Regions from separate parts of the Homo sapiens genome. Here region 2 is linked to region 1. The links are contacts of gene promoters, found by promoter capture Hi-C in blood cells and fetal thymus (Javierre and others, 2016). All regions are on one chromosome and are shown on one strand. Each heading gives the region's core, a stretch centred on a gene start or on the middle of the fragment in contact. The rest is flanking DNA. Distances are from core to core; before and after follow the strand shown.

The links. The method cuts DNA at HindIII sites, captures the fragments that hold promoters and counts their contacts. A CHiCAGO score of 5 or more calls a contact.
Region 2: the fragment with the promoter of MTMR6 here is called in contact with the fragment with the promoter of HSPH1 in region 1 in 1 of 17 cell types (total B cells); the score reaches 5.1 in total B cells.

Annotation. Positions count from the first base shown.
Region 1 is chr13:31,159,510-31,165,638 of GRCh38, reverse strand. It overlaps HSPH1 (heat shock protein family H (Hsp110) member 1), which reads left to right and starts at 3,735. Exons shown (of 18, transcript NM_006644.4): 1 at 3,735-4,163. The coding sequence starts at 4,057. LOC105370148 (a long non-coding RNA gene) reads right to left here and starts at 2,979. Exons shown (of 3, transcript XR_941825.3): 1 at 1,542-2,979; 2 at 397-485. RefSeq lists enhancers at 3,109-3,378, 3,609-3,728, 3,859-3,938, 3,550-4,095, 4,096-4,641. The HindIII fragment of the contact is 12,297 bases long and covers 1-4,682 here.
Region 2 is chr13:25,285,355-25,291,523 of GRCh38, reverse strand. MTMR6 (myotubularin related protein 6) reads left to right here and starts at 4,036. Exons shown (of 14, transcript NM_004685.5): 1 at 4,036-4,300. The coding sequence starts at 4,277. RefSeq lists enhancers at 3,723-3,892, 3,993-4,332, 4,036-4,656. The HindIII fragment of the contact is 4,901 bases long and covers 1-4,697 here.

The DNA.
Region 1 (6,129 bases), core at 2,486-4,985:
TGGCACCAGCTTCTCCTTAACTGGACAAGAACTGGGTGTACTTTGGGGAAGGGTAATGTGCTTACTGGGTGGGCATTCAGAAACCTTCTCTACAGATGGTGAAGAATTCAATAGAGCCTTGAAGGATGAGGAACTGGCCTAGCCAGGAGCCTGAGGAAGAATTTTCTAGGCAGGGGAATAAAGGAACACCTTGATGTGGGGTAGGGGGCCAGTGTGCCTGAGCACGGTGTTCCAGTGGCAAAGTGGCTCACAGTGAGTTTGGGGGCAGACATGAACATTTTCCTACACATTGAGTTTTTGTCTGCCACATTTATTACAAAATATGATCCTTTTTAGGCTAAAAGAAACATCATTTTACATATCTTTTCCATGTCCTACCAGACAAAACATACTTACCTTATTTCTAGGTGTACCTTTTTATAAGTCTCTGCTCCCTGCGTGATTTCCCCATGCATTCCTATTTTTAGATGATCATTCTATTATAACTTAAAATAAGGACAAAATAGGTTTTAGCAGAACCAATTAAGGTTTAAAAGATACATTTTCAGGTTAATATATAAGAAGAAAACAAAAATCTTTTGGTAAGCAAATATTGAAAAAGGTTCAAACGGACAAGATTTCAGATAATTGAGTATTCATGATGCCCCAGCATTGCAGAGAAGTGACAAAACACATCTTGATTTAGAACAAGTTTTATACTACTTCTGTAACCCTCCAGACCCTGGCATTATGCTGGTTATAGAGAAGACTGCCATACTGGTTGATACCAGAAATTCAAAGTCATATGCACTTTCATGTATATTACTCTATCTGCATATCCCCTCCTTTGCCCATCTCTTCCTCCTTTCAAGGAAGCCTGGCATAGTTTTTTATATCTACTGCATATTATCTCTTTGAATGGCATTTTTGTTTGGGCTTTTCTTAATTTTGCATTTTTGTTTTATTGTTCTTTGGAAGTGGTCTGTTTCTGCTTCCAATTTTGAGGTCCTTCTTATTCTCTAAAACAAATATGGAATGAAACCTAATAATTGGATTCATAATTACATAACAAGGATTTGTAGGGATTGTCATTATTTGGTCCAAGTCTCATTTTAAAATTTCTGACATTACAACAGTAAGTGTGATAAATTCTACATGTAATAAAATATATAAACATATAAAGTAATAAAATATAATAAAGTGTTAAAAGTGAATTTTTTTAATAGTCTTGCTATATTGCCTGGGCAGGACTTCAACTCCTGGGCTGAAGCAACCCACATGCCTCAGCCTCCCATGTAGCTGGTACTAGAGGCATGAGCCACTGCACCTAGCTAGGAATTATTTTTTTATTTTTAGAGACAGACTCTTGTTCTGTTGCCCAGGCTGCAGTGCAGTGGAGTGATCATAGTTCACTGCAGCCTCAAACTCCTGGGCTCAGGTGATCCTCCTGCCTTGGCCTCCCAAAGTGCTGGGATTACAGATGTGAGCCGCCATGCCTGGCCCAGCTAAGAATTTCAATTAGATAATAAATATGGTAGATTTTACAACCTCTTATCACTTACCTGTTGTGCTGAATAATTAAGGCAAATCGATTAAATAAAAGGGGGCTACACCATGACTACACAACACATCCACAGCAGTACAAGATTAAAGTTTGTACTGACTTTCACTGAATGATATTACTTCTATTACTACAATTTATCAAATACCACCATACCATGTTTTATTTATATCTAATCCTTCCAAAATCCTAGCAAAAATAGGTATTACTTCCATTTTACAGTCGAGGAAACAGAGGGCAAAGAGGAATTTGACAAAGATGACAGACTTTATATGTTTATGTTTATATATGTTTAGTGCTTTACATATAGTTTCCATCATTACATAAACACCATGAGATGGAATACAGAAAGGCTTAGTAATTATCGCAACATCACACAGCTCACAAATAAGAATAGCTAGGATTCAAGCCCATGATGTCTGACTCCAGGAGGCCTGGTGCCCTTACAAGCTGTACTTTATATAAAACATCTTAGTAGAGTGCCAAGGATTTGAACCTGACCCAAATCTGTCTGGCTCCAAAGACTGAGAACTGTTCATGTCTCCTCTTCGTACGGCAGTTAAAATGTGGGAAGCAGACCAAATAATCTCAAAGGTTCTTTCTGTTCAAAATTGCTATGTCTCCATGGATTTTATTATAAGGTTTTGATATGTAAGAAAAAGTTGGTGGGCGGGGGGTGGGGACAGAAACCAAGTTTTTGGGATGCATAACAAAAATAACTTATAGTTACAGCTAACTATATGTCCAAATGTAAGAACACAACAACCCCGTGATAACTATTATTGCTCCCATTTTAAAGGTGAGTTAACTGAAGCATGTTAAGTAAGCCACCTAAGTGGCAGGAAAACTAGCAAAAGCACATACAATTTACATGTAATGTAAACCTGGGCCTTTCGTCTTGCCTCTGACTTAACCAACTTGTTTTGATAGACAAGGAGGAATTCCCATACTCTTTATGAGTTAGATTTTTCTAACTTTAGGTTACAACTCCTTATTCAATTACACGCTTATCCAATAACATATTTGAACTGTGCTTATACTTCCACATGCCTGACATAAGGTAAACTCAGGGATCAGAAGCAAACTTAAAAAGACACAAAAGGGTATAAAAGACCTGATAAGTTATCAGCAACACAGTTCCACCTTTTCTTACACTGTCTCTTTACTGAACAAAAGTTAACGGGGACATCGCTTCTGAGGGAAAGAAACAAAAGCTGCTTCAGATCAAACAAAAAGCAAAACTTACACACAGTACCAATTTATGGCTAGGAGTGGCAGGGTAGAACAGCGTCGGCTTAAATCAGACCTTTTAAAAATAAGCAGAAAGTGATACCGTGGACAGCCTGCCAAATGACGTCACAACTAAAAATCGATTTCTTAAAAAAAAAAACACCTGACATTTTACTCCACAAGAGATCATCCTGCTGCCTGATGAATACAAGAACACTTAACACAACCCCTTTGCTTTTATTATAAGCGGTTTGAACTGGTGTTCCTTCTCCTAAGTCGTAACGCACCAGTTGTCGGGGTAATCCAGACAATAATAGAAGTGAATACAAAACAAACGAACAAAATGACGCTTATTGCCAGGGAACCCGCGCAAAAGCGCCAGACAAAACCCTACCCAGCCTCTCTCGCGAGTCCCAGAAGACAAAGCCGGGTCCCAGCAAGCACTGCGGCCAGGACTACACATCCCAGCATGCAAGGCGCACACTTCTCCCAGCGGGACTACGATTCCCAACATGCTCTCCGGACAGCTGGCCGGCCTCCCCACCATCCCGGTGTCTGGGGTCTCTGCAAAAATGGGGTCTGTCTCCGCCCGCCCAGCCTCCCTTTAGCGTTAAGGATCGGACACCACCTCCCGGTAGTAAATTGTGACTATTCCGAGTTTTGGAGTCATTCTTCGTTGCCTGTTTTATTAGGGCAGCAAAACGCCTGTGGCTAGGGCGGGAGTGGGCGGAGGCAGGTTTGAGCCAATGGCACGGGAGCGGCCCTGTCGCTGCCATGGCAACGGCGGCCGTTCTCCGGGGACCGGCTGCCCATTGGGTAGAATCTTTCCAGAAGGCTCGAGAAGAAGGAAGCGGAAGTGGCACGTGGAGGGGCCGGTGGAGGCGCCGGTGAGTAAATGCCGCAGATTCTGGAAAGTTCTGATCAGTGCGATACATAAGGCTGAGGAAGTGGGACCTCCCCTTTTGGGTCGGTAGTTCAGCGCCGGCGCCGGTGTGCGAGCCGCGGCAGAGTGAGGCAGGCAACCCGAGGTGCGGAGCGACCTGCGGAGGCTGAGCCCCGCTTTCTCCCAGGGTTTCTTATCAGCCAGCCGCCGCTGTCCCCGGGGGAGTAGGAGGCTCCTGACAGGCCGCGGCTGTCTGTGTGTCCTTCTGAGTGTCAGAGGAACGGCCAGACCCCGCGGGCCGGAGCAGAACGCGGCCAGGGCAGAAAGCGGCGGCAGGAGAAGCAGGCAGGGGGCCGGAGGACGCAGACCGAGACCCGAGGCGGAGGCGGACCGCGAGCCGGCCATGTCGGTGGTGGGGTTGGACGTGGGCTCGCAGAGCTGCTACATCGCGGTAGCCCGGGCCGGGGGCATCGAGACCATCGCCAATGAGTTCAGCGACCGGTGCACCCCGTAAGTGGGAGTCTGCGAGGGTGGATGGGAGGAGGTTCTGGGCCCTTAGTGTGGGGACCCAAGATCGCGGGCTGGCTGTACGGATCACCGCGGCAAACGGAGGCGTTTGGGCAGCGGCGCACCCCTCCGTGGAACTAGGGACCAGCGACCCGGCCAGAGGAGGGATGGGGGGCTTGCCATCACAAATTGGAGAAGGGATTGTCTCAGGGATTCACGGGGGTGAGAGGAGTCCCAGAGTCGAGACTCTAAGGGTCGTCACCTTGTGCGGGCTTCCTATTGGGGGTTTTCAAAACCTACTGGGGGTCGGGCTGCGGCAAAGCCCGCAACTTCGCTCCCTTTTCTTGGCAGGCTGCAGCCTGCGCCTTCCGCGGCCGCCCCCGTATCCCCACCCGGCCTCTCTGAGCTGGCTGAGCCGCCTCCAGCTTGTCCTCCTCCCTTCGCGCATATCTTTGCGCACCGCGGAGCGGGGCTGCCGGCCTTTTTCTTCCGCATTGTGAATCTCGAAATGAACTGGAAGCTTCCAGAGCTTGTGTCGCTGCTTGTCCAGTGAGCAGGCGGATTGTTGTTAGCGACCACGGAAGCAGTCCTATGAAAGATTAGCCCACCTCTTTTTACCCAGTCTCTTCGTTGCTAACATTGTTGGCCTTAATGCCCGGGATCATTGTCGAAAGATGTAAACGTCTTTTTTTTTGCTCTTTGCCATTCATGAGGAATTGTAAACCGTATTTTTAAAATTAATTTTGCACAGTTTATTTAAAAGAGAATAAAAATTGCATACTTTTGTGCTAGGACGCCAAAAGAGGATGGATGTCGTCACTGAACTAAATATTCTATAGGAGCATAGGGTGGGCAAAGGGCAACATTTTAAAAAGCAAGTTTCGTGAAGGGATATTTTCGGACGAGAATATATACAAACATATCTGCATGTGCATTGATGAAAACAAATGATTTCATCTCAAGGAAAATACTGTACCTATTAATTTTTTTCAAATGTCCCAAGCTCAGGATGAAAAGTGCAAAATGAAAACATTGAACCTAAAGGTAGAATGAATGACTGGGGTAATACAATTATTTGGGTGCTGAGAACGTTTATGAAAGTTGAGTGGAAAATCTGAGGCAAAATATTTGGCAATGTTAGTAACGTTAGGAAGACTGTTCTGAGCAACCTGTACGTCTACCCCTGCAGATCTAAGTTTGTGTTTTGGTTAAGGTTTTTTTAATTGGAGTTTAGTAAGAAAGAAAACAGTATTTCAGGCTTTCATGCCTAGATACAGTTTATACTTTGTTCTGGTTGATCCAATAAAACAAAGAAAAGCTTTTCAGAGAAGAGAGTGGGAAAAAAAATTGTGTTATACAGGGACTACTGTGTGAAATCAAAGACAACAGGTATGGCCCTGAAAAATGTGAACTGAGGGCAGTATTGGAGTTCCCCTTAATATGTTTGTTAAACTATAATTGTGGTGGATTCTATTGTATCAGCTACTAATTGTTATTTAGTACAATTAATTTGATTCTCCCCTAGGAAAATGAGTAGATCCATTCTGCAAGTGTATGGTTATTCAGAGCTTACAGTGATGCTCTGATTTTGACGGTTTCTTGTCTAGCTTCTGCTTGGACACTTCTCTGGCTTTTAGGATGCTATTTTATTTAACACTTGCTCAGATAATATAGTTTGAGGATGTTTCTATTATAGCAAATTTAAACTTAAGGGTGGTACTTAATGCCCTCAGTATTTTCCCGTTTTGCTCATCTCGTTTACCATTACTCATACCTAAGCAGGTAGGAGTAACTCACCCAAAATTAGATTATATTTGAATTAGTAATCCAGAATTAGATAACTCCTCTAATCCAAAACCTAATTCACTTACCTTCTTCTCACAAGACTTTTTAAGCTAGTCTCTGCTCTGTTATTGTGCGGTTCCATTTCCATGGTGGCTGAGAAGGTTGTTTCACAGTTGTAAGTCAC
Region 2 (6,169 bases), core at 2,787-5,286, 5.9 Mb after region 1:
TATTCACCTAGGAGAGATGAGCTCTTACATGTATCAGAGCAGGAGGCTAGAAAACAAATAAATGAACAAACTGAAAAACAAAGAAAAATAGGAAAATGTATGTAACCAAAAAGATCTCTTCACTTAGAAACAATAACATTCTAGTAGACAAACCTTGTGCTCAGATTTTGGATTCTTTTTTTTTCCAGTTAGGTCATCTTGGGTTCAGAACAGATCTTGGATTCTAATAACATTTTCCAATAAAAGGAACCAGGGCTCCTTGGGGAAATGGATGATTCTAGGGCTGGGGTGGGAAAGATGCAAGATGAGCCTGGAGCATCTTGTGGTATAGCATACCTGTATTCCCAGCTACTCAGAAGGCTGAGACAGGAAGGTTGCTTGAGCCCAGGAGTTTGAGGCTGTAGTGCACTATGATCACACCTATGAACAGCCACTGCACTCCAGCCTGGGCAATATAGCGAGACCTCATCTCTAAAAAATAAATAAATAAATAAAAATAAAGTCTATTTAAAGTGAAAACACTTAGAAATTAAAAATATAAGCCAGGCACAGTGGCTCATGCCTGTAATCCCAGCACTTTGGGAGGCAAACCTTGTGCTCAGTAGACAAAAAAGGAAGAAAAAGAAGAATCCAAGATCTGAGCACAAGGTTTGTCTACAATTATATATGTATGTGCATGTATATGTGTGTATATATATATACATACACATACATACACACATGTACATATATATAATTGCAGCAATTAAAAATATTAGAAATAATGGAGTATTCTAAAAATATTAGAAACAATGAAGTATTAAGAATTTCCTAGAGAGTAGATTAGAAAGGTAAATTCTTAAAAAATAGGAGTGAAAGAATAGTAAAATTAGGAAGTCAGACCAGGAATTTCTACTGAAAAAAGAAAGGGGCTGGGCACAGTGGCTCACATCTGTAATTCCAGCACTTTGGGAGGCTGAGGCAGGCAGATCACTTGAGCCCGAGAGTTTGAGACCAGCATGGGCAACATGGAAAAAACCCGTCTCTACAAAAAATACAAAAATTAGTCAGGCTTGGTGGTGCACGCCTGTAGTCCCAGTTACTCAGGAGGTTGAGGTGGGAAGATTGCTTGAACCTGAGGGGTTGAGGCTGTAGTGAGCTGAGATTGTGCCACTGCACTCCAACCTCAGTGACACAGTGAGACCCTGTCTCAAAAATAAATAAATAAAAATAAAACAAAATAAAAAGAAAGGAGAAAGGACAGGAGGGAAATAGGAAAGAAGAAAGATGAGGGAGAGAAGAGAGGTGAGAAGAATAAAAAAAATTTTTAAAGGGAAAAAAGAAAAAGGAAGAAGGAAAAAGAACGAAACAGTAATTATTACAGAAATAATACAAGAAAATGTCCCAGAATTGAAGGACTTATGTTTTCAGATTACAGAGCTCAAAACACTGGGCAGAAAAATAAACAAGAAAGCTAAGTTTTATTATGTTGAAATTTTAGACCATTGGAGATAAAGAGATCCAAAAAGCATCCTGAGAAAGTAGAAGCGACACCTAAAGGGAAATCGGAATGCCAGCGGATTTCTGAACAACTGCATTGAAAGTCAGGATATGTCTCTGGGAGCTTTCAAAATCCTAATTAAAATTACAGAATTCTAGACCTAGCCAAACTTCCCGTCAAGGATTTATGCTCCATTCACCCTTTCTCAGGAAGTTAATACAGAATATACTACATCAGAATAAAACAATGCAAGTAAGTAAATCAAGAAAGATAAACCACAGGATCTAAAAATTCAGCACAAGTAACCAACACATTTCTCAGGCCCATGGTGAGGAGAGTCCCAGGATAATATCCATTCAGTAGGCTCAGAGAACACAAGTGCAAACTGGAGCAAAAGGAGAAAAGGCTCCTAGAAGCATCTGGAGACCTCTAAAGAGATGTCTCGAGGAAAGATAATGGAACTGAGTGATTGCCAGATTTAACCATAAGGAATATTCTATCTAGTGCAAGAGTATTCAACTCAAGAGTCAAAGAAACGTCATTTAATATTTTATCTGTTATTTTACTTTCTTTCTGTAAAGCTAGGTAATTTTCTAGCCTATCATATTAACATAAATAGAACTTTAATATGGATTTTGAGAAGCAAATCAATGTAAAACAGTTGTTAAGAATACAGACTCTGAAGTCAGCCTGTCTGGCTTTATAACATGGATCTTGGCTTTATCTGCTATGTGATATTGGGCAAGTTACTTCACTTCATTGTGTCTCGCTTGTCTCATCTCTAAAATAAAGAAAGCAATAGCATTTTCCTCAGAATACCCGTAAAGCACTCAGTACATTTGGTCACCTGACATCATTATGATTGCCTCTCTGTGAGAATTGGTAAAGAGAGGACACAGGAAGTGAGGAGATGAGAAGAGGGAGGATAATCTGTAGGGGAATGGGGAAGGAGGAAGTTGTAAATTGGGAGGAAAATGATATAAAAAGTTTTGTTAAGAAAGTCTTGCTGTATGCTATACAATTCACCTCTTTCTGTTTTCTCAAAAAGCAATCCTCAGTAAAGACCTACATTACTTTTCTCTCTCTCTATATATATATATATGTGTATATATATATATATGTATATATATATATATATATATGTGTATATATATATATATATATATTTTTTTTTTTTTCTGAGCAGGATTTGTGGGGTTTTTTTTCGGGGGGAGGGGGTGGATGTGATACTGTACTAAGGTTGGTTTCTAGGTGGTTTAATGTAACTCTTATTACATATTTAGCTTAGAGGAGTCAGCAACTCCACCGCAAAGGCTGTTGTGTTTAATAACCATCTCCATTGCTTTGGCAATCTGTCTGAAACATCGTAGGCACTCAAAACAAAACAAACCAAGACAACTTGAACAAAATGAAACAAATAAGTGAAACAAAATTTTTAATTATAAAAGAAAATTTAGATGTTAGGCTTTTCTAACACCAATCACAGTATGAAAGATGAAGATTACAAACCTTAACCGGCTTAGTACAGAATACTTACAAAACGTAGAGCAGAGTTTCTCGGACTCTAACTCCTGACCTCAAGTGATCCGCCCGCCTCAGCCTCCCAAAGTTCTGGGATTACAGGCGTGAACCACCGCGCCTGGCATAGAGCAGGGTTTCTCAACCTCTGCACTGTTGTCATCTGCCGGATAATTCCCTGTAGTTGGGGGGTTGGTCTGGTGCCTAGTAGGGTGTTCAGCAGCCGACTTGTGACTTGGCCTCCACCCACCAGTTGCCCCCCGCCGCCACCCCCCCACCACCACCATTTGAGACAACCAAAAATATCTCCAGATGTTACCAAATGTCCCCCGGGGAGAAAACTCACTCCAGGCTGAGAAGTACCACATTAGACGTGTTCTAACAAAAATTACCTGTAACCCTCACCTAGAAATGTAAACTTTTTGTTTACATAAATAAAAATTACAGAGCACGGCTACATTGAACTTATTGTTCCATAGTCAGTTTTTTCTTCACTCAGTAATGCAGCATTAACATTTTCGTTATGTGATATCCCTCTACAGGATGAGTTTTAATGGATGCTGGTGCTAACATCGTATGAAATTGAGGTAGGAGGCGGGACTCTGACACCAGACCAGATTGAGGACTAGCTAATCATCATACTTTACATAAGGAATCCGTAGGATTGGAGAGTTGATTGTTTCAAATAAGGCTGGTTTCCTTATTTGGTTATTTCCTTAGAATAATAACTCCAAATCTGATTATTTCCTTAGAATACATTCTTATGAGTAGAACTGCAGCTCAAACTAAATTTGGTGCTGTCCAGTGGTATGGCGATGGACTTCAGAACATCCTCCACTCTTGCCCTCACCCCACAAGAACCCTTTACTCGGGATCCATTCTCACGCAGTCTTCCTCCCCGACCGCCCCGCGCGTCCGCTCGGCGGGATGACAAAGACCGCCTCGGGTGGGGTGGTGAGCAGTACCGGCCTCCTCCAGCAGGGGGCGCTGTGGGATCCGCCGCTGTCCGGGACGAACCAGCAAGCCGCTCTCGGTCCACACACGCTCTGTCTGCCTGCCCCGAGTCCCCCGGGAGGCCGCGGGGTTTGGGGAAGTGTTTCTAGGAGACGGCGCTCACCGGCTGCACCTGCGCCGTTGACGCCACCGGGGCCGGCAGACAGACCCGCGGCGCTGGCTGGTGGAGGGAGTTCCCGCTTGCTCTCTGTCGCTGTCACCGCCCTGTTTCTGTAGCCGTATGGTACGCCTGTGAGACCGGCTGCCGGCTGACGTCTCCTTGCGATGGAGCATATCCGGACGACCAAGGTAGTCGGGCGCGGGATCGCCAGTCTTCAGGGGCCCTGCTCTGACCCGGCTGAGGCAGGAGGAGACGAAGGCTCTGCTGGCCTGACTGGGGCTGGGAGCCGGCCCGGCGGAGACCCGGCCCGGGGCGGGAGGGTCTGGCCAGGCCTGGTCTGGGAGGGCAGGGTTAGCTTGGGCCAAGCGGGGTGCAGAGGCCTCCTGTACCTACAGGAGCAGGGGTCCCACTTTCAGCATCTTGGAGTGCGTAGAGATAAGTCTGGGAAAACTGGTCACCGCCCTCCTAGCTCTACGTTTTCTCGGGCAAAATTGGGGCTCCTTTAACTTTGGAGTCTTTCAGCCTTTCGTTGCCTCATCAACCGGAAAACCGTCTTCAAATTAACATTATGATGCTGTGTAAGCTTGTCCTTGCTCACATTTCATTGTCCCGTGTCACAGATTCACAGTACGAGTTTTGGAGGAACCGAGATCAGCACTCCGCTCCACCTCCCTTTGCTGTCTCGGTCTCCAGTCTTTCGCATCCGGTGTTTCCGTGTCTGTGCTTCATACTTCAGGCATTGTCCTGTGTCAGTAGTCAAGAGTTCTGGAGAAGGGAAAAATGTTATTCCATATTTTAAAAGGTCGGATGCAGCTTTATTCGATTGACCTTATTGCACTCCATGCTTAATTTTTGTGTGTGGAAGACCTTCATTTTGAGAACGAACAAATATTTTTATTTCGTTACAAATTTAAAAACGGAAGGAAATGACATCAGAATGTTACCAAATTACGTTTCCAACGACATTTAAGTTTAACTTTGAGAGGGAGAAAAACATAAATCGAGACGAGAAGAATAACATTTTAAAATCACTGCGAGCCCACTGCAAGGCAGCCTCTTGACGTTTTGGCAAAGCTGAAGCCCTTTAGTTGCTGCCCATCTTAAAATTACGGCTCATTTAGGGAACCACAGATGTTCGTTATCTTCATTGTTCCAAGAAGAATTTGTGTTTTTAAAAATTTTTTAAATGTTTCACAAACCTTTTAAAGGTATACATAAATTTTTATTGGAGCTTGTCTTTAACATTGTGCATACCGTATCTAGTAAAATTGAAGATTCTGAAAACTAACCCCTTAACATTTTTTTTTAAGAGAAGAAAGATAAAATAACTTGAGAATTCAAGTTGTGGGTACTTAAATTTTGAAAATGGAAGGGTGCTTAAGTCTATAACCAAACTCGTAGAAGGTGCACAGAGGAAAAGAGGACTAGAGTGGACATTGGATCAGGTTCTTGTATTGGTTCCAGATATGTATTATGTAGTAGCTAAGTGCACGTGACTTCCTTCTGCATCAGTTCGAAGCTCCTCTATTTTTCATATGCTTTCTACGGTGCATAGCACACAATCGAAAACCGGTAAAAGGCTGGGCACGGTGGCTCACGCCTGTAATCCCAGCACTGTGGGAGGCCGAGGTGGGCGGATCACTTGAGGTAAGGAGTTCGAGACCAGCCTGGACAACCTGGCAAAACCCCATATCTACTAAAAATACAAAAATTAGCCGGGCATGGTGGCAGGCGCCTGTAATCCCAGCTACTCAGAGGCTGAGGCAGGAGAATTGCTTCAACCGGGGAAGTGGAGATTGCAGTGAGCCAAGATGGCACCAGTGCACTCCAGCCTGGGCAATAGAGCGGGACTCAGTCTCAAAAAAAAAAAAGAAAGCCGGGTGGGGTGGTATGTACCTGTAGTCCCAGCTACTCGGGAGGCTGAGATGGGAGGATGGCTTGAGCCCACGAAGTGGAGGTTGCAGTGAGCCAAGATTGCGCCATTGCCCTCCAGCCTGGGTGACATAATTGGGGGGGGGGGGGCGGAAAAGAATAAAAAATCAGTAAAAGTAAACTGA